7 separate regions of the Homo sapiens genome follow, and all the other regions are linked to region 7. Evidence: promoter capture Hi-C in 16 types of primary human blood cells and fetal thymus (Javierre and others, 2016). All regions are on one chromosome and are shown on one strand. The core of a region is centred on a gene start or on the middle of the fragment in contact, and the rest is flanking DNA. Distances in the headings are between cores, read along the strand shown. Region 1 overlaps DARS1 (aspartyl-tRNA synthetase 1). Region 2 holds the start of MCM6 (minichromosome maintenance complex component 6). Region 3 has its middle 220 kb from the start of CXCR4. Region 4 has its middle 240 kb from the start of CXCR4. Region 5 has its middle 200 kb from the start of CXCR4. Region 6 overlaps DARS1 (aspartyl-tRNA synthetase 1). Region 7 holds the start of CXCR4 (C-X-C motif chemokine receptor 4).

Evidence for each region. The method cuts DNA at HindIII sites, captures the fragments that hold promoters and counts their contacts. A CHiCAGO score of 5 or more calls a contact.
Region 1: a contact is called between a fragment that was not itself captured here and the fragment with the promoter of CXCR4 in region 7, in 14 of 17 cell types (neutrophils, activated CD4 T cells, monocytes and 11 more). The highest score is 20.3, in neutrophils.
Region 2: the fragment with the promoter of MCM6 here is called in contact with the fragment with the promoter of CXCR4 in region 7 in 1 of 17 cell types (fetal thymus); the score reaches 5.5 in fetal thymus.
Region 3: a contact is called between a fragment that was not itself captured here and the fragment with the promoter of CXCR4 in region 7, in 11 of 17 cell types (total CD8 T cells, non-activated CD4 T cells, monocytes and 8 more). The highest score is 15.3, in total CD8 T cells.
Region 4: a fragment that was not itself captured here is called in contact with the fragment with the promoter of CXCR4 in region 7 in 11 of 17 cell types (activated CD4 T cells, monocytes, total CD4 T cells and 8 more); the score reaches 16.7 in activated CD4 T cells.
Region 5: a fragment that was not itself captured here is called in contact with the fragment with the promoter of CXCR4 in region 7 in 10 of 17 cell types (activated CD4 T cells, total CD4 T cells, fetal thymus and 7 more); the score reaches 12.3 in activated CD4 T cells.
Region 6: a fragment that was not itself captured here is called in contact with the fragment with the promoter of CXCR4 in region 7 in 16 of 17 cell types (naive CD4 T cells, total CD4 T cells, naive CD8 T cells and 13 more); the score reaches 20.6 in naive CD4 T cells.

The regions. Positions count from the first base shown.
Region 1 is chr2:135,929,390-135,932,089 of GRCh38, reverse strand. The region is part of intron 7 of DARS1 (aspartyl-tRNA synthetase 1); the gene reads left to right. LOC124906078 (a long non-coding RNA gene) reads left to right here. Exons shown (of 2, transcript XR_007087246.1): 1 at 1-1,608. Among named protein-coding and RNA genes, the nearest start is that of MCM6, 54 kb to the right of the region's middle. The HindIII fragment of the contact is 5,919 bases long and covers 1-2,700 here.
Region 2 is chr2:135,875,074-135,877,773 of GRCh38, reverse strand. MCM6 (minichromosome maintenance complex component 6) reads left to right here and starts at 1,331. Exons shown (of 17, transcript NM_005915.6): 1 at 1,331-1,515. The coding sequence starts at 1,409. RefSeq lists enhancers at 1,057-1,116, 1,807-1,936, 1,706-2,241 and a silencer at 1,577-1,736. The HindIII fragment of the contact is 12,304 bases long and covers 1-2,700 here.
Region 3 is chr2:136,332,299-136,334,998 of GRCh38, reverse strand. No RefSeq gene overlaps it. Among named protein-coding and RNA genes, the nearest start is that of CXCR4, 220 kb to the right of the region's middle. The HindIII fragment of the contact is 3,277 bases long and covers 1-2,700 here.
Region 4 is chr2:136,358,384-136,361,083 of GRCh38, reverse strand. No RefSeq gene overlaps it. Among named protein-coding and RNA genes, the nearest start is that of CXCR4, 240 kb to the right of the region's middle. The HindIII fragment of the contact is 983 bases long and covers 931-1,913 here.
Region 5 is chr2:136,314,062-136,316,761 of GRCh38, reverse strand. No RefSeq gene overlaps it. Among named protein-coding and RNA genes, the nearest start is that of CXCR4, 200 kb to the right of the region's middle. The HindIII fragment of the contact is 2,187 bases long and covers 273-2,459 here.
Region 6 is chr2:135,910,045-135,912,744 of GRCh38, reverse strand. DARS1 (aspartyl-tRNA synthetase 1) reads left to right here. Exons shown (of 16, transcript NM_001349.4): 13 at 179-259; 14 at 1,252-1,363; 15 at 1,535-1,606. Among named protein-coding and RNA genes, the nearest start is that of MCM6, 35 kb to the right of the region's middle. The HindIII fragment of the contact is 7,312 bases long and covers 1-2,700 here.
Region 7 is chr2:136,116,884-136,119,583 of GRCh38, reverse strand. CXCR4 (C-X-C motif chemokine receptor 4) reads left to right here and starts at 1,435. Exons shown (of 2, transcript NM_003467.3): 1 at 1,435-1,538. The coding sequence starts at 1,524. RefSeq lists an enhancer at 2,444-2,513 and a silencer at 2,644-2,700. The HindIII fragment of the contact is 7,141 bases long and covers 1,001-2,700 here.

The DNA.
Region 1 (2,700 bases), core at 95-2,594, 190 kb after region 7:
TCCTAATTATTTGCTTTTTGTCTTCTACCTTTTCCATTTTAATTTGTATATGAAAAGCAAGCAGTAATCCAAAGTCCTCTTGATACTACCTAGAAACCTCAGGTTTTTCATGTATGTTGGCCACAGGAGTGAGACATCATTCTTTATTTATTTGCCCTTGCTAGTTGTTCACACAAGTTATTATTGGTTTGTGCCTCTAGAATTTGACCTGAGGAGTTTTTGGGTTTTGGGTTGTATTGTTTTGTTTAAATTCATTGCCACCATTGAAAAATGGGTTTTCACATTAAAATCTGGATGGCACTTCTTAAAAAGAGGAGAATCTGGAACATGAGCTAGCATGCTAGATAGGACATATACAGGATTCTTACACTGTCTTTTGCTTTGCCCTGCACCACCCAGCAAATATCATTCATTTCATTCATTCATGTTATTTGGCCCTTGCAAGCGTTCACATGCTTAACTCTTACTTTGACTTTACATTTTGGGAGATGTTGTGTACATTAGTAACTTTAAGTTTTTAAGCACCTTCGTTTCCTTCTAAACTACTGTCTTGGTTTGGTGCAGTGTCTCACACCTGTAATCCCAACACTTTGGGAGCCTGAGGTGGGAAGAATGCTTGAGCACACGAGTTTAAAACCAGCCTGGGCAACATGGCAAGACCCCTGTCTCCTTAAAAAATTTAAAAATTAGCCAAGTATGATGGCATGCATCTGTGGTCCCAGCTACTCAGGAGGCTGAAGCAGGAGGATTGCTTGAGCCCAGGAGGTTGAGTCTGCAGTGAGCTATGTTTGTACCACTGCACTCCAGTCTGGGCAACAGAGCAAGATCCTGTCTCAACAAATAAAAAATAAACTACTATCTAATTTAGTCCCCAACTAGCTCTTTCATAGACTCTCAGCAAAGTCAAGGGCTAAAGAATTTGGAAATAAAAGGCAAAATTGCCATTCTTCTTCTATAATACAAACGTTCTAAGATATATCCTCCGTCAGGTTCTAGTGTAGCCTGACTTTTTTCTCGTATATGAATGGTTTTCTCTCTGAACTTTACAGGCAGGTGCCCTGATTAAAAATACTTCACCTTCCAGCCCCCAAGAAGGTTAAAGCAATTTTCATTCCTAGAAAAGTGAATTAAAATGTCTTTGGCACCCTTTTCATACATAGCACTCACATAACTCATATTCCAGATTGGCACGGCAAATTAGCTTCATCCTCATAGGTTAGCAGGTTGTTAGGAGGGTTTTCTCAGAATCTATTCAGGAGAGTTCCCTTTAGATCAGAATTGTCCCCTTTATTTCACCTCACTCTTAGGTACAGGTGAAGGTTGTCCTAGGAGTAAATGTTAGTCTTCCCTCTTGAGAATCATTGTTTAAGTACTTTTCCCAAATACAAATGGATTCGTTGGTTCAAAATTAGTCTATTTCTTTTATTTCTTTATCTAGACCCCCTGTACTATAGCTAGTCTACAAAATATTTATTATGTTCGTATTACAGGTTTCTTATACTGTGGAATATGTATTGGTCATCTTCAAAGAACACATCATTTTGTTGGGGAGATAAGACTAGTAGTGTGAGGTCTCCTTAATAGGGATGCCCTCCCTTGGGTTGCCAGGTAAGCATAGAAACTGAGCCATCTTTAAAGGTGAATCATCAGCTCTTTTTTGCCACTTGGTTTCACATGCCAAGGGGATAGACAATTCAGGACTCATGGGCATCCTAACCCTTGAGACCCCATGGCATTCCTAAAGTTCTCTTTGTTTGCTAATACACCACATTATCCTCAATGCTACCTCTGAAATCACACTATCAAATAGCCCCTACTATGTAATTCTGTAACTTTTTTTCCTGAATGTTTAGGTCTATTTTGGCATGCAGGGATTAAGAAAATAGCTATCTGAGCATATATTTTATAGTTCACTAATGAACCCTACTTTGACCCTGTGGGTTAATGAATGAAAAGTATCTGCTATTATGGTGTGGTTTCATCTTATCAATTACATATTTTTGTTTTGAAATTTGTCACCTTTGTCTTCACCATTCTTTTCTCTTGGACAGACTGTTAGCCCCTTAACTCATGTACTTGCCTTGACTTAAGTTACCAGTCTGTCCAAGAGAAAAGAATTACATTCATGGCAAATGCCCCCAGTCAGGCACAACATACCATATACATAATATTCTTGATGAGCTTAAAGTAGCCACACAGCACTCAGGGCAGCCTCCACTAACTGATTGGAAATAAGCCTATTTGCCATATCTCCCTGAAACTTTCTATTAACAAAGCCACAAAACGCTTAAACAAAGAAAAATTAGATAATATCAATAGCCCATCTTCTAACACATTGCCTAGCTCATTACTTTCAATACATATTTTCCAAACTAAAAATTAAAATCTCAACTCTTTAAGAGAAGTTTCGTAATTTTGTAGTATAAGAGATTATCCTGGCAATATAGTTTTAATGCCAATATATTGAAACTTACATGACATTTCAGTGGTTTTGCAGTGTTTTCCCAAGTATGGTACCTTTACCACTGAAGGTACACAGTGATTTCTGGGTGTTAAACAGATGAACATTTTTTATTTTAATAGCTATACAATATAACCAGCAAATAAAATCCATGTTTTCATGGATATTATTGCTTAGAGTTAGTTAAGTTTTAAAATGTGATTTAAAGGAAAATATTAAGTACTAGTACAAGAGATACC
Region 2 (2,700 bases), core at 82-2,581, 240 kb after region 7:
GAACCAGAACATTTAAAAGACTCACTGAAGGAGAGGCGCCTACAAAGGATGCTAATCAGGAATGGCCAAAGAGATGGCAGAAAAACCAAGTGAAATGGTTAGGGAAAGATGGGGGAAAAAAACATAAGGATAACTCAAGCCAATAGTGCATTTTAAGAAGGGTATTAAGGCCGGGCGCTGTGGCTCACGGCCGTAATCCCAGCGCTTTGGGAGGTCGAGGCAGACGGATCACCTGAGGTCAGGAGTTTGAGAGCAGCCTGGCCAACATGGCGAAAACCCTGTCTCTACTAAAAATACAAAAATTGGCTGGGCATGGTAGCGGGCGCCTACAATCCCAGCTATTCAGGAGGCTGAGGCAGGAGAATCCCCTGGACCCGGGAGCTGGAGGTTGCAGTGACCCGAGATCGCGCCACTGCTCTCGAGCCTGAGCGACTGGGTGAGACTTCATCTGAAAAAAAAAAGAAAAGAAAAAGAAAAAAAGATTAATCAAAGTGTCAAATATTTCTTTCTTTTTCTTTTTCTTTCTTTTTTTTTTTTTTTTTTTTGAGACGGAGTCACACTGTGTTGCCCAGGCTGGAGTGCAGTGACACGATCTCGGCCCACTGCAACCTCCTCCTCCCAGGTTCAAGCGATTCTCCTGCCTCGGCCACCCGAGTAGCTGGGATTACAGGCGTGCACCACCACGCCCGACTAATTTTTGTATTTTTAGGGGAGATGGGGTTTCTGCATGTTGGCCAGGGTGGTCTCGAACTCCTGACCTCAGGTGATCCACACGCCTCGGCCTCCCAAAGTGCTAGGATTACAGGTTGTGAGCCACCGCGCCCGGCCAATGTCAAATATTTCGCTGATTTTCCTCGGTCAGCACCACCACAATAATTGTGCCACCTTACCCATGCAAGGTTTAGACATCTCTTTGACTCTTTTACAGGGTTTTATACTGTGGTTTCCATTATTTCCTCTAACTAGACAGCAGAAGCGGCTTACTCATTTTTCTCTTCCATAGAGTCTTACTCCGATCGTTCAATTAATATCAGTGGAATGATTTAAAGAACATTTGAAAAACCACTCGGACAAAACCCTCAGATTCGAACTTGTTCCAGCAGCCAAAAATACCCGCGGGCCACGGCTACACTGCGCAGGCGCAAAGGCAGATGGGCTTTCTCCAGAAGGGCTTTGCATTTGGCGCGAAATCCCTTTCCGTGGGCTGGGGCTCTTGGAGAGGCGCCGTTCATTGGTCAGGTTTGGCGCGAAATCTCCAGCTCCTGTGTCACGATTGGTTCCGGCCGTGCAGGTCGGAAGAGGGGGCGGGGCGGAAGCGGCGGCGGCGCGCGCAAAGCTGCAGCGTCTGGAAAAAAGCGACTTGTGGCGGTCGAGCGTGGCGCAGGCGAATCCTCGGCACTAAGCAAATATGGACCTCGCGGCGGCAGCGGAGCCGGGCGCCGGCAGCCAGCACCTGGAGGTCCGCGACGAGGTGGCCGAGAAGTGCCAGAAACTGTTCCTGGACTTCTTGGAGGAGTAAGTCGGCGAGCGCCCCGGGCCTCGCCCGCCTCCGGAGCCTGCGGCGTCTGGGCCAGGCGGTGCCGTGTGGGCGGCGGGTGTTCCGGAACCTGGGGGTCGCGCGTCCGGGAAGCGCCTCCCCGCCCGCCCCCCAACTTTAGGCTCCGAGCCCGGCGGCCGCGAGGAGCCTGGGACAGGCTGGGTTTTTCTGGAGTAAAACCCATCTCGAGCCCTAAGACGCTCGTGCCCAGTGCTCAGCGCTTTGCTTCTGTCACTTGATGCTCACCACCCCGCGAGCCTGGTATTTGCACAGCCCTCGGTGACCGGCGCGGAAACCTGGGCTCGCTGAGTATAGTAACTGGGCCGCTGGGTGCGGCCAGGTCGAGTGGGAGGCCGAAGTGCCATTGAATCTCGTCGGTGCCCTGCTGGGCCACGCAGCCGGGAGCATGGTGCTGGGGGTTCGCAGGGCACGGGCCACCCTCGCCTCTTGTGCTGATGAAAGTTTCTGCGTCAACTGTGGTTTGAAAGCTGCTGGGGGGCGGAGCCCTGCCCTGCAGAGAGTAGCTCACCATATCCCTTCTTCTGGGTCCCTTGCTCCCCTTTCCCTCTGGCCTTCCTTTCCTTTCTCTACTCTTCTTTTTTTCTGTGCCTCTGGGCTCCTAGCTTCATAACCCCAACCTCCTCCCTGGCTTGCCTCACCCACCGGTTATTTTTCCTGGAGCAGATACACCACGGCCTCCAGGATGAAGGGTCAGCAGTTTGGAATGGCTTTTGAAGTTCTTTTTTAGTAAAATATACATAACAAAGTTGACCATTTTAGCCATTTTTAAGTGTAGAGTCCAGTGGCACTAAGTGCATTCACCTCGTTGTGCAGCCGTCACCACTCTCCCATCTCCAAACTTTTTTTTTTTTGAGGCGTAATTTAGCCCTTGTTGCCCAGGCCGGAGTGCAGTGTCACCATCTCAGCTCACCGCAACCTCCGTCTCCCGGGTTCAAGCTATTCTCCTGCCTCAGCCTCCCTACTAGCTGGAATTACAGGCATGCGCCACCACGCCCGGCTAATTTGGTATTTTAGTAGAGATGGGGTTTCTCCATGTTGGTCAGGCTGGTCTTGAACTCCCGACCTCAGGTGATCCCCCCGCCTGGGCTTCCCAAAGTGATTACAGGCGTGAGCCACCGTGTCCGGCTCCAAACTCTTTTCAT
Region 3 (2,700 bases), core at 118-2,617, 220 kb before region 7:
TTGCTGCTGTTCTCATGATAGTGAGTGAGTTATCACAAGATCTGGTTGTTTAAAAGTGTATAGCACTTTCCCCACCTCTCTCTTGCTCCTGCTCCCACCATGTGAGATGCCTTGCTCCCCCTTTGCCTTTGCCATGATTGTAAGTTTCCAGAGGCCTCCCCAAAAGCCAAGCAGATGCCACCATGTTTCCTGCACAGCCCGCAGAACTGTGCGCCAATCAAACCTCTTTTTGTTATAAATTACCCAGTCTCAGGTATTTCTTTACAGCAGTGCAAGGACATACTAATACACACACAGATGCTATGTAAACAGATATGGGCAACACTCGTATTCACAGTGATAAATAAGATTCCAGGGATTAGGATGTTGATACATCATTTTAGGGGGCCTTATTCATCAATATGAATATGAGTGTTACCTTATTTGGAAAAAGACTCTTTGCAGATGTAATGAAGGATCTTCAGATAAAGAGATTATCCTAGATTAGCCAGGTAGACCCTAAGTCTAATGATAAATGTCCTTATGAGAAAGAGGCAGTGGCAGATTACACCTACCGAAGAGGAAGAGGTAATGTCAAGACAGGCAGAGGTTAGAGCAATGCCACTGCAAGCCAAGGAATGCCTGGAGCCACCAGAAGCTAGAAGAGTCAGGGAACAAATTCTTCCCTAGAGCCTCTGGAGGGAACACATCTCTGCTGATACTTTAATCTTGGACTTGTGGCCTCCAGAGCTGAAAGAGGATACATTTCTGCTGTTTTAAGCCACCAAGTTTACAGAAATTTCTTATGTCAGTCACAGGAAACTAATATAATTGATAATAGTAATGGTATGTTAGTCCACCTGAAGATGCTAGAAATAGGCCCTCACTGGTCAACTATGAAGACTAATTGAAATAATTGAGAGATACTCATCATCTTTGCATACACTGAGTATAAGAATCTAGCAAAGACCTTCAGCTTGGACATGTAGGTACAGCACAGAGACTTAATCTACCAACAATCCCTTGCTGAGCTATTGGTCTGGAAAATTCCAGTTGCTTGAACTATTGGTCTGGAAAAATCCAGTTGCTTTTGTCCCTATAAATGGACAAAAATCCTGCCTATGGTATAATATTAAATCCGTATTGAGTGAATCTTGCATAGCAGGTAGTGTTCCAAACACCTAGGAGGACAGAGAGCTGGAACTCTGAGTATATAAGAGCCAGTAGCAGGAAGAGTGTGTTTTCTGCTTGCTAAAACATGCTAGTTCAGTGCTGTGGGACAGCATTTGATGGGAGTGAGCTAATGTTGGCTACTGTTACTTTGCAAAGAGAACTTAAGACTGGTGTGTGCTATGGTTTGAATGTGTCCCCTCCAAAATTCAGGTGACCCCAGGGCAACAATATTGGGAGGAAAAGCCTTTGGAAAGTAACTAATTATAGCTCTTCCCTCGTGAATGGAATTAGGTGCCCTTATAAAAGGACTTGACAGAGTTTGCTCCTCTTTGCCCTTCTTCCTCTGCCAGGTGAAGACACAGCACACCCCTCTGGAGGATGCGGCATTCAAGGTGTCAGTGTGGAGCAGAGGCCAGACCCTCATCAGACAATGAACCTGCCAGTGCCTTGGTCTTGGACTTCCCAGCCTCCAGAACTGCGAGAAATTTCTGTTCTTTATAAATTACCCAGTCTCAGGTATTCTGTTATAGCAACACAAAATGGATTAAGTGTGTGACCCAAGCAGCTTAGATGAGTTCTACAAATGCCCAAGGGTCTCAAGAATCCTGGAACACTGGGACACCCTGTCATCACTCACCCTGGTGAGCAAGCAGATGCCCACTGTCAAGGTCTCCATGGTCCCTTGAGTCAGGTGGCTGGGTTACTCTCTTCCCAAGTGGGAGTCTGATGGCCTTTGCTATTGCTGGGAACACAGGTGCCTGGAGTCTTCCTCCCTGGTTTGCTACCAGCCTTTCCCCTCTGAGTCTCCCCAGGGAGAAACTCACAGGTCCATACTGCTTTCAGCCAGCCCCCTCTGTTGCCTTTCAGGTCTCTAGAAGCTGTTGTCTCTCAGATTCCACCCTCCTCCCCCATCCTACGCTCCTCTCTCCCCTCTTCCTCCTGGACCCCAGCCACAATCTTGCCCAAGACATTATGCCAAGAGACTTCCACAAAAGCTGAGGGCAGAGCTGTCCTCTGTCAACCTCACCCATAGGAGAAAGCACAATCGTGTGGGCTAGCCCCCTTGGAGTGAGGAGAAGGGAAAAATTCTGGAAGAATATTTATACAATGAAGAAATTAAATTTTCCTGACACAGATGCAAAGTGCTCACACAGTGCTAGCTACACACTCCATGAGTCCTATTAACACCTGTCAACATCCATCAGGTCACACCGCCTATGAATGGTGTGTATGCATGGGCAACCACACATCTGTTTGGCTCAGTCAAACATCCTCAGAGCCTAGCAGAGTTCCTGGCACATGGTGGGCACTTAATAAACATTGTTCAAAAATAATTAGTTATTTCACAAATGAACATTCCAGAGTTTTCTAGCAACTTGTGCAAAGTTAAAGACATGATGAGATACAAGATCTACAATGTGGATAAAAACCAAACAGTTGCTAAAGAAAAATACAACTACTTCTTTTGCTGACACCAGAGTGAAACCTCCCACATTTATCTTCATAGACATATTTTTATTCTTTCTACTTTTCTGCATTTTCCAAAAT
Region 4 (2,700 bases), core at 173-2,672, 240 kb before region 7:
CAGACCGGTACCGGTTCGTGACCTGTTAGGAACCGGGCCACACAGGAAGAGGTGAGTGGCCAGTGAGCAAGCACTACTGCCTGAGCCCTGCCTCCTGTCAGATCACAGGTGGCATTAGATTCTCATAGAGCGCAAAGCTGCACATGCGAGGGATCTAGGTTGTGCTTTCCTCATGAGAATCTAAGGCCTGCTGATCTGTCATTGTCTCCCATTACCCCTAGACAGGACCATCTAGTTGCAGGAAAACAAGCTTAGGGCTCCCACTGATTCTACCTGATGGTGAGTTGTATAATTATTTCATTTACACAGGCCAGGCGCAGTGGCTCACGCCTGCAATCCCAGCACTTTGGGAGGCCACGGCAGGCAGATCACTTGAGGTCAGGAGTTTGAGACCAGCCTGGCCAATGGGGTGAAACCCCGTCTCTACTAAAAATACAAAAATTCACTGGGCATAGTGGTGCATGCCTGTGGTCCCAGCTATGTGGGAGTCTGAAGTGGAAGAATTGCTTGAACCTGGGAAGCAGAGGTTGCAGTGAGTGGAGGTTGGTGCAATCTCGAGATTGGCTGCACTCCAGCCTGGGTGACAGAGAGAGACCCTGTCTCAAAAAAAAAGAAAGAAAAGAAAAAAAAAAAGAAAAGAAAAGAAAGCACAATAAATGTAATGCCCTTGAATCATCCTGAAACCATCCCCCCTCCCTGGGTCCATGGAAAAATTTTCTTCCATGAAACTGGTCCCTGGTGCCAAAAAGGTTAGGGACCACTAGTTTAGAGACCTGGGGCACCCACCTAGCAATCCCAATTTTTAAAAATAACATTCTGTGATATGAACAATTACCATCTCCTCACCTACTTAAAATGTGACTAAATGTCTTAAGAAATATTTCTTTATCAATTGGTAATATATAATCTAACCAATTTATTTTAAAAGCTTTAGACAGGTTCCTACTCTCTCACCCTCTTATAACTCAAAAATTACCATTCCTACATGTTCCTAGGTATAAATTCTAGAGCCTGCCAGAATTCTTACACTAGAAATAACTTTGAATATCAGCTGAAATTTGCTGCAAACATTCATGTTTGCATGCCAAGGTCACTAGTCAACCGATCTTAGATTTTCATATAAAAGACCCTCAAAGCGAACTCAGCAGATATCTCTACCAGCACAAAGCACTGGAAACACAACTTGCAAGAGTAAAGAGTTTAAAACCAAGGTTTAAAATAAAAAATGTATTCAACTTTACAGTAACAGCACCTAGGGCACATTACACCTGTATACATCACTCTCCACAGTATATCAGGAGGAGGTGGAGTTATAATAGCCTTACATGGTCTGAGGAAGAAACCTCAGCTATTTCACAATTTGCTGAGGCCCACCTGGGCAGAAACCACACTGATGTTTAAAAAAAAAAAATGGTGCATTATGCAAACCAAGATGGAAAAGATGAATCAAAGTAGGCTTTATTTGTAGGGCTGTTTGGGATATAATATTTCCTTCATAACTGAAAAATAGTCATGCTGCATGTCGGGGAGGAGTTACCAACAAAGCCAGCCTGATACCTCATACTTTCCATAAGGTACACATTCAAGCACAGAGCTTGATTCGTGGCTGTGAGGGTTATTTTCTCAGCTAGTCCATGCTCGCCTTTCTCACTCCACCTCTTAGCACTTGTCCAAAAGTCCTCAGCTTGCATTCTATGTGTTGGGTTGCTTATAGGTCCGGCACATATAAAGCTGATAGGCCCATTGCTAGGAATGCTTTTTCAGCTGTGCAAAGCTCTGTTGAGACCCACCAAGGCACTGCAGCCTTGGGCTGTTGGACTTGCTACTTGACTTTCAAAGCCATTCCCTCCCTTCCCAGGGAAGTTGCTTGTATACTTCACCCACCTCTGTCTGCAGAGCAAGCCTGGCAAGCTTCCCACCATCACTTTAAGGCCTTCAACCTTCAGCTCCTGCTCCACTTTTCCAGAATGGGTTGGAGCCCCTTGTCTGTGTTCCCTTTGTGCCCTACTTCTACCTTCTGTTGTCAACACTTGACAGAATCATATTGAGACTATACATTTGTATGTTGAATTTCAGCCCCATTTTATTTACCTCCTATCTTGGCTCCAACGTGTAAAACTATGACTAGTTTTGAATAGGTTCTCAATCATGTGTAGGTGAAGCCAATTTATGTCATTGTTGAAGCTCTCTGCCATCAAAGAAAAGTTTAGAAAGTAAAGTGAGGCCTGCAAGGGCCTGGGCAAACCCCAGCCAGACTGCCCACTGGGTGGGAACCCCCTCCCCCGAGGCCCACTGCTGCCATCCTCCACTCATGGTGAGCCATTGAGTTCTATCATAATAGCTGGTGGGGGAAGCCTGGCTTCATTGCAGCCTCACTTCCTGCTCTGCCTTTGCTCCTTTCTCAATGTTGAGAAAGGATGCCTGTTCTGATGGGAACATGCATCAGATTGGGAGTTACAGAGATTTGCTGTCCAGAGACTGACAGACAATGATGCTAAACAGGTCACAGCTCCTCTCTGCCCTCAGCTTATTCATTCTCAAAATGAGAGGACTGCCACTTCACACCCACTAAGATGGCTACAATAAAAAGACAGACAATAATAAGCATTGAGAGGATGTGGACGACGAACCCCCATATACTGCTGGTGAGAATGGAAAATGGTGCAGCCCCTTTGGAAAATAGTGGCAGTTTCTCAAAAA
Region 5 (2,700 bases), core at 117-2,616, 200 kb before region 7:
CTATAAAATGCTCTGAAGGCCTCTTTAAGGCAGGATCAAGGGAGACCATCTCTTGTGATTCTTAAGCTAATATCTTTAAAAAAAAAAGAATTTTCAAATGTCATAGAATTTACACATTAAAAACTTATATTCTCAGAACTTTCAACAAGTGAAAATGTAGCATGATTGTTGTTTTCTCCGTGTGTTGTAAACTTGAATGCCTTTAGAACTAAATAGAGGGCTCTCAGATGCAGAAGAGAGCATAGTCATCTACAGAGAAAAGAGAAGAAGCTTTTGAAGCAATGAATGCCATGACAATTTCAAAACTGGAACAAGCCAGCAACTTCACAAAGTATTTTATCAAGCCAAACCAAAATATCAGCCACCCCATGTAACACCAGGAAATGTTGTGAGGCATCTGACAGAGCACACAGCCTTTTGAAAATCTCATGTGCACCTGCCTTTCCTCTGACTCTCTCTGCCTAAAGAAAGTTTAGGGTCCTATACATCATCCTCTTGCTTGACAATGTCTGGGAGTTCATGAGTTCTTAATCCTCTGTCACTGGAACAGACTTAGAGCATCCCAATCAGTAGTTCTGGAATACAGCTGGTATAGAATGAATCATAGAATTTTAAGAAAATGTAAGGTTCTGGACCAAAACCCCGGAGATTCTGCCATGGTAGGTTTGAGGGCGTCTCCAAGCAATTTCAATGATCACACAGATTTCAGAACCAAGCCTCTCAATCCTTGACTGTAAAGCTGATTAATTTTATAAATCTATTAATTATTGTTATAAATTTATGTTACACGCACACACAATTTGCAGGAGGGAAAAGCCAATATATTCAGGATAGGGAATTAGAACAGTTTTTATCTCTCTCTGTCTGAGTTTCACCAAATTCAGAGCCTGAGACAGGGACTTGCACACAGGTAGTTTATGTTAGGAAGTGATCCCAGGAAACAGGCATGATTGACTAGGAAGAACAGAGCAGAGGGAAAGGGAAAGCCTATACTGGCATTCATTTTCAAGCTGATCATCTCTATGAATTCCTGAGGACCAGTCCCACTGGGGATTCTCTGAGGATCTGTATAAAATCTACCTTGGATATGTCCATCTGAAGAAAAGAATATAGGGGCATTTATCCACAGGGTTCTGTCATCCCTGGTCTAGGGTTGCCCCGAAGGGTAGTAATACCTTCAAATGTCCAGGTGTTTTTGTTTTTGTTTTGAGATGAAGTTTTGCTCTTGTTGCCCAGGCTGGAGTGCAATGGCATGATCTTGGCTCACCGCAACCTCCGCCTCCTGGGTTCAAGCGATTCTCCTGCCTCGGCCTCCTGAGTAGCTGGGATTACAGGCATGTGCCACCACACCCGGCTAATTTTGTATTTTTAGTAGAGACAGGGTTTCTCCATGTTGGTCAGGCTGGTCTTCAACTCCTGACCTCAGGTCATCCACCCACCTCGGCCTCCCAAAGTGCTGGGATTATAGGCGTGAGCCACTGCTGTCCAGGTTTTTTAATGTATCAGAATGGCTGGACATCTCCCATCACAGTAGCCGAGAAGTCCCATGGCAGAAAGCAAGAGAAGTGAGGAATGTTTGAAGAAAGGTGTTCTCAGAATATACCTGCATGAGCTGGTTGCTATAGCAATGTTGAAATTAAAAAGGTGGGCCAAGACTGGGTGCGGTAGCTCACACCTATAGTCCTGGCACTTTGGGAGGCCGAGGCAGGTGTGTCGCTTGAGCCCAGGAGTTTGAGAACAGCCTGGACAACATGGCACAATCCCGTCTCTATGAAAAAAAAAAAATACAAAATTTAGCCGGGCATTGTGGTACACACCTGTGGTTCCAGCTACTCCAGAGGCTGAGGTGGGAGGATTGCTTGAGTCTGGGAGGTGGAGGTTGCAGTGAACCATTATTGTGCCACTGCACTCCAGCCTGGGCAACAGAGTGAGACGCCTTCTGGAAAGGAAAGGAGAGGAAAGAGGAGAGAGGAGAGGAGAGGAGGGGAGGGGACCGGAGGGGAGGGGAGGGAAGGGGAGAGGAGGGGAGGGAAGGGGAGAGGAGGGGAGGGGAGGGAAGGGGAGAGGAGGGGAGGGAAGGGGAGAGGAGGGGAGGGAAGGGGAGAGGAGGGGAGGGAAGGGGAGAGGAGGGGAGGGAAGGGGAGAGGAGGGGAGGGAAGGGAAGGGGAGAGGAGGGGAGGGGAGGGGGAAGAAAAAAAACAAAAGAAAAGAAAAGAGAAAGAAGAGAAGGGAAAGGGAAGGAAGGGGAAGGGGAAGGGAAAGGGAAAGGGAAGGAAGGGGAAGGGAAAGGAGAGAAAAGGTGGTCCAACATGATATGAAGCAGGGCACATAAGCTGCCCAGTGCAGTCCACCCCTCACACTGCCCAGCTTTGCTCAACCCTATGTTAAGTCCAAACTATCACAGAATCTTCAAGGTGGTGGCCAGCTGAAACCTCTATCAAAACCTTCAAACCCAAGCTTCTGTGGTAGAGATCCTAGTTCCTGCTGATGCAGCTGATCCTAAAGCCATATCTGATATTTTTCATCTTCTTTCTGAATCACATGTTTTAGCTTTCCCTCCCCCTCAGCTAACACTATAGTGAACCCAGGCCATCATGCTCAAAGAATCTGAACCTTCAGTTTCTTTACTGATTTGGGGCTGTGCTTCTTGACCTTGTCCATTAACAGTTAATACCAGGCTTTGGAAGCTCCTAGAGACAC
Region 6 (2,700 bases), core at 119-2,618, 210 kb after region 7:
ACCATGGCAAAATGCTGTAGGATAAAAATGTTACTGAAAAAAGCAAGATATTCATTGTATATACAATATAATTAGAGTAATTACGAAGAACCAAAATTTTTGTATAAAGTTAATTACCAAAATGTTAGCCATTTTACTTTTTAAAAATGTATTTTAATTGCATTTATTCTTTTTATAGTATGATACAGATTTTTATATTCTTGATAAATATCCATTGGCTGTAAGACCTTTCTATACCATGCCTGACCCAAGAAATCCCGTAAGTAATTTGGTTTTAAGTAACCCATTTTGAGGCAGAAGGGAAATTTTATTGTCACTGTCAGATTGTATAATAGGAATAATGGTTTTCATTAATAATTTGCAGTTTTGATAGACATACGTATTACCATTGATGTCTGTCACCACTGGTCAAAATGATATTGTAAAATTTGAATATTCTAGAAAATTAGTTTTAAAAACCTATGTTAAAATCATTTTACTTGGTCATTTTTCTGAAGATTTATGAGAGAGAAAGACTATGTAAATTATAAATAGTACTACTAGATTTGCATACTTTAGTAAATCATCCTGTCATTGACCTTAAACTGGGAATTCACATTGTATCCTGGGAGTTAATAATCTAAATAATGTCTTACGGTCTTTTACCGTTTTTCCATTGCAGTGGTTTCTAAACTTTACCATGCATCAGAATCACCTGGAGGGCTTTTTAAAACACCAGTTGCTGAGGCAGAATTTCTCATTAGTTGCTGTGGAATGGGAGCCTGATAATTTGCAGGCCCCACTCCAGACCAAGTAAAAAATTTCTGGTAATACTGAAGCTACTGGTCCAGGAATCACACTTTGGGAACCACTGGTTTATTGAAAGACAGGGGATTAAAGTAAAAATAATAATAATTTAAAGACTCACACCTGTTAATAACTTGGAGTTCCAAAAGTCACCCCAAAATAATATCATTCTTAAAAACATCTCAGATGATAAAGTGAAATAAGGATCAGCACTGCTTCTTAAAAATTAGATGTGATGCTCTGATTTGTTATTGGGGGGTGTGGGAGGAGAGCACAGAATCTGATATAAACAAAGAAAAAGTTATTCAGCCCTCAGTAGTTTAATTCTACTTTAGAGAACAAGATTGCATTGTTAATTGTAGGAAAAAATGAACTTGCTCTTCATGCAGCAGAGATTTTTTTCCGTATATATGTAATAGAAATAGGATGGTAGTCACTTGAGGACTGGTGTTTTTTCTCTTGCAGAAACAGTCCAACTCTTACGATATGTTCATGAGAGGAGAAGAAATATTGTCAGGAGCTCAAAGAATACATGATCCTCAACTGCTAACAGAGAGAGCTTTACATCATGGAATTGGTAAACAACTTAAAATAATTTAGGGGAGTGTATATTCTGAAAATAATACATTGTAAACATTTAAAAGACTTCTCAGTCTTTTTAAAAATCTCCATTGAACAGTAATTGCTTTTGTGACCTTTTAAGATAAATAAGATGATAAATTATATTTTGTTTTGTGTCTTTTTGCAGATTTGGAGAAAATTAAGGCTTACATTGATTCCTTCCGCTTTGGAGCCCCTCCTCATGCTGGTGGAGGCATTGGTAATATTCTGTTATTGCTTACAAATAAGTTCATAAGTTCTAAGTATAATACAAATTTGAATTACAAGAATTTTTAAAAGTGAATTACGACATAAGTGAAAATTTGATTTCCAAGAAACAAAATAAACAGCTAACTTGTGTGTTATAAAATATTATTGTCATAAAGTTCTAGCCATTTTTTTTCTCTTAAGAATTTAGAAGCCAAATGTCTTGTAAGTGGAGTATCCTGTTTTCTCTCTGCTGCTGTGAGTTCATTCGCATTAGCACAAATTAAAGCTCTACCTTAAAATAGCTCAAAGAGCTGCTAAGTGTTTTTATTGAGATGCAGCACTTGATTCACTTTAAGATCACTTCTACAGTATATGTAAGGGACTGCTCTGCAATTTAAAATGAGCAAATATTTAACTCATCTTTGGATGTCCATATCAAACACTCTTAAAAAATTTTTTGAATGTATAGTTTCATTGAAGTTTTTATTTGTTGTTTGTTTTGGGGTTTTTTGGAAAATACAAAATGTACTTACAAAATTTTCAAATTAAAATTGGTCGAGAGACAGTTTTTTCAACAGATGGTACAGAAAAAACTAATGTCCATTTGCAGAAGATTGAAATTAGACCCTTACCTAACATCATATACAAAAATTAACTCAAAATGGATCAAAGGCCTAAATGTAAAACCTACATATAAATGGCCAATAGGTATATGAAAAAATGCTCAACATCACTAAACATTAGGGAAATATAAATTAAAACCTCAATGAGATAACCATCTCACACCTCTGGCTGTTAGTAAAAAGGTAATGGATAATTGTTGGTAAGGATGTGGAGAAAAGGGAATCCTTGTTTGTAAATAGTTGATGGGAATGTAAAATTGGTACAGCCATTATGAAAAACAGGATGGAGATTCTTCTAAACATTACAAAGAGAATTACCATATGATTCAGAAATTCCATTTCTGGTCTTACATACCAAGGGAAATGAAATCAGCATGTTGAAGAGATTTGTGCACTCTGATGTTCAATGCAGCATTATTTACAATAGCCAAGATATAGAAATGACCTTAGTGTCCATCAGTGGATGAATGGATAAAGAAAG
Region 7 (2,700 bases), core at 186-2,685:
GCCTCCGAACTACCTCTGGAACACTCCAGACTGAAATGTTTCCTCTTTTGATATAGAAAAGAGGGATCGTGTGTAGAGTGCAGTCTGGGCAATCCCTCTCCTCGGGACCATTTCGGGGTGGGGGCCTCTGGGGTCCGTGTCGCGACGCACGCGCCTCGGTCCCAGCTATCTCCGCAGCGGCCACCCCGCCTGCGGACGCAGTTTCTCGGCCCCGCCCCACACTCGCTCCCCCGCCCCACCCAGTCTCCGCGCCGGAGGGAAGTGGCGCGAGGGGGAAAGCACTGTCTGCGCGCCCACTGCAAACCTCAGCCAGTCTGAGATCGCTTTAAACGTCTGACCCCCACCCCCACTCCGCCCCGCCCAGTTCTTCAACCTAATTTCTGATTCGTGCCAAAGCTTGTCCTCTGCTCAAAATCGTGGAAGACGCCGAGTATGGGGACCGAAGACCTGGGTTCAAGCCCGGCTTGGAATCCCTGCCCATCCCTGGCATTTCATCTCTCCGGGCTTATTTGCTGGTTTCTCCGAATGCGGGCCTTGTCTGGTTCACGCTGGATCCCCAACGCCTAGAACAGTGCGTGGCACGCAGTTCGTCCTTCTATAAATATCGGACTAAATGCATCTCTGTGATGGTAATACCCACACGGTGTTGTGAGAATGAATGAGTGATTCTGTGCAAGTTCCTAGTGATCTGTTACAAAAAGTACTGGTCGCTAAATTACTCTTATAATAAAGCATACTTTTAGGATAATAAAGCACTATTCGCGAATTGGTTACCGCTATTATGAAATTACTGAGCAATACATATCTACATCTGATCAGTCTCCAGAATTATGCCAAATCCTACCTTCTTCTGAAAGTATCTCCTAATTATCTGCACCTGACCCTAGTGATGCTGTGAATGTGCAAGTATAGCTACATCCTCCGAAGGAAGGATCTTTACTCCTTTTACCTCCTGAATGGGCTGCGTCTGCTGAAAGCGCGGGGAATGGCGTTGGAAGCTTGGCCCTACTTCCAGCATTGCCGCCTACTGGTTGGGTTACTCCAGCAAGTCACTCCCCTTCCCTGGGCCTCAGTGTCTCTACTGTAGCATTCCCAGGTCTGGAATTCCATCCACTTTAGCAAGGATGGACGCGCCACAGAGAGACGCGTTCCTAGCCCGCGCTTCCCACCTGTCTTCAGGCGCATCCCGCTTCCCTCAAACTTAGGAAATGCCTCTGGGAGGTCCTGTCCGGCTCCGGACTCACTACCGACCACCCGCAAACAGCAGGGTCCCCTGGGCTTCCCAAGCCGCGCACCTCTCCGCCCCGCCCCTGCGCCCTCCTTCCTCGCGTCTGCCCCTCTCCCCCACCCCGCCTTCTCCCTCCCCGCCCCAGCGGCGCATGCGCCGCGCTCGGAGCGTGTTTTTATAAAAGTCCGGCCGCGGCCAGAAACTTCAGTTTGTTGGCTGCGGCAGCAGGTAGCAAAGTGACGCCGAGGGCCTGAGTGCTCCAGTAGCCACCGCATCTGGAGAACCAGCGGTTACCATGGAGGGGATCAGTGTAAGTCCAGTTTCAACCTGCTTTGTCATAAATGTACAAACGTTTGAACTTAGAGCGCAGCCCCTCTCCGAGCGGGCAGAAGCGGCCAGGACATTGGAGGTACCCGTACTCCAAAAAAGGGTCACCGAAAGGAGTTTTCTTGACCATGCCTATATAGTGCGGGTGGGTGGGGGGGGAGCAGGATTGGAATCTTTTTCTCTGTGAGTCGAGGAGAAACGACTGGAAAGAGCGTTCCAGTGGCTGCATGTGTCTCCCCCTTGAGTCCCGCCGCGCGCGGCGGCTTGCACGCTGTTTGCAAACGTAAGAACATTCTGTGCACAAGTGCAGAGAAGGCGTGCGCGCTGCCTCGGGACTCAGACCACCGGTCTCTTCCTTGGGGAAGCGGGGATGTCTTGGAGCGAGTTACATTGTCTGAATTTAGAGGCGGAGGGCGGCGTGCCTGGGCTGAGTTCCCAGGAGGAGATTGCGCCCGCTTTAACTTCGGGGTTAAGCGCCTGGTGACTGTTCTTGACACTGGGTGCGTGTTTGTTAAACTCTGTGCGGCCGACGGAGCTGTGCCAGTCTCCCAGCACAGTAGGCAGAGGGCGGGAGAGGCGGGTGGACCCACCGCGCCGATCCTCTGAGGGGATCGAGTGGTGGCAGCAGCTAGGAGTTGATCCGCCCGCGCGCTTTGGGTTTGAGGGGGAAAACCTTCCCGCCGTCCGAAGCGCGCCTCTTCCCCACGGCCGCGAGTGGGTCCTGCAGTTCGAGAGTTTGGGGTCGTGCAGAGGTCAGCGGAGTGGTTTGACCTCCCCTTTGACACCGCGCAGCTGCCAGCCCTGAGATTTGCGCTCCGGGGATAGGAGCGGGTACGGGGTGAGGGGCGGGGGCGGTTAAGACCGCACCTGGGCTGCCAGGTCGCCGCCGCGAAGACTGGCAGGTGCAAGTGGGGAAACCGTTTGGCTCTCTCCGAGTCCAGTTGTGATGTTTAACCGTCGGTGGTTTCCAGAAACCTTTTGAAACCCTCTTGCTAGGGAGTTTTTGGTTTCCTGCAGCGGCGCGCAATTCAAAGACGCTCGCGGCGGAGCCGCCCAGTCGCTCCCCAGCACCCTGTGGGACAGAGCCTGGCGTGTCGCCCAGCGGAGCCCCTGCAGCGCTGCTTGCGGGCGGTTGGCGTGGGTGT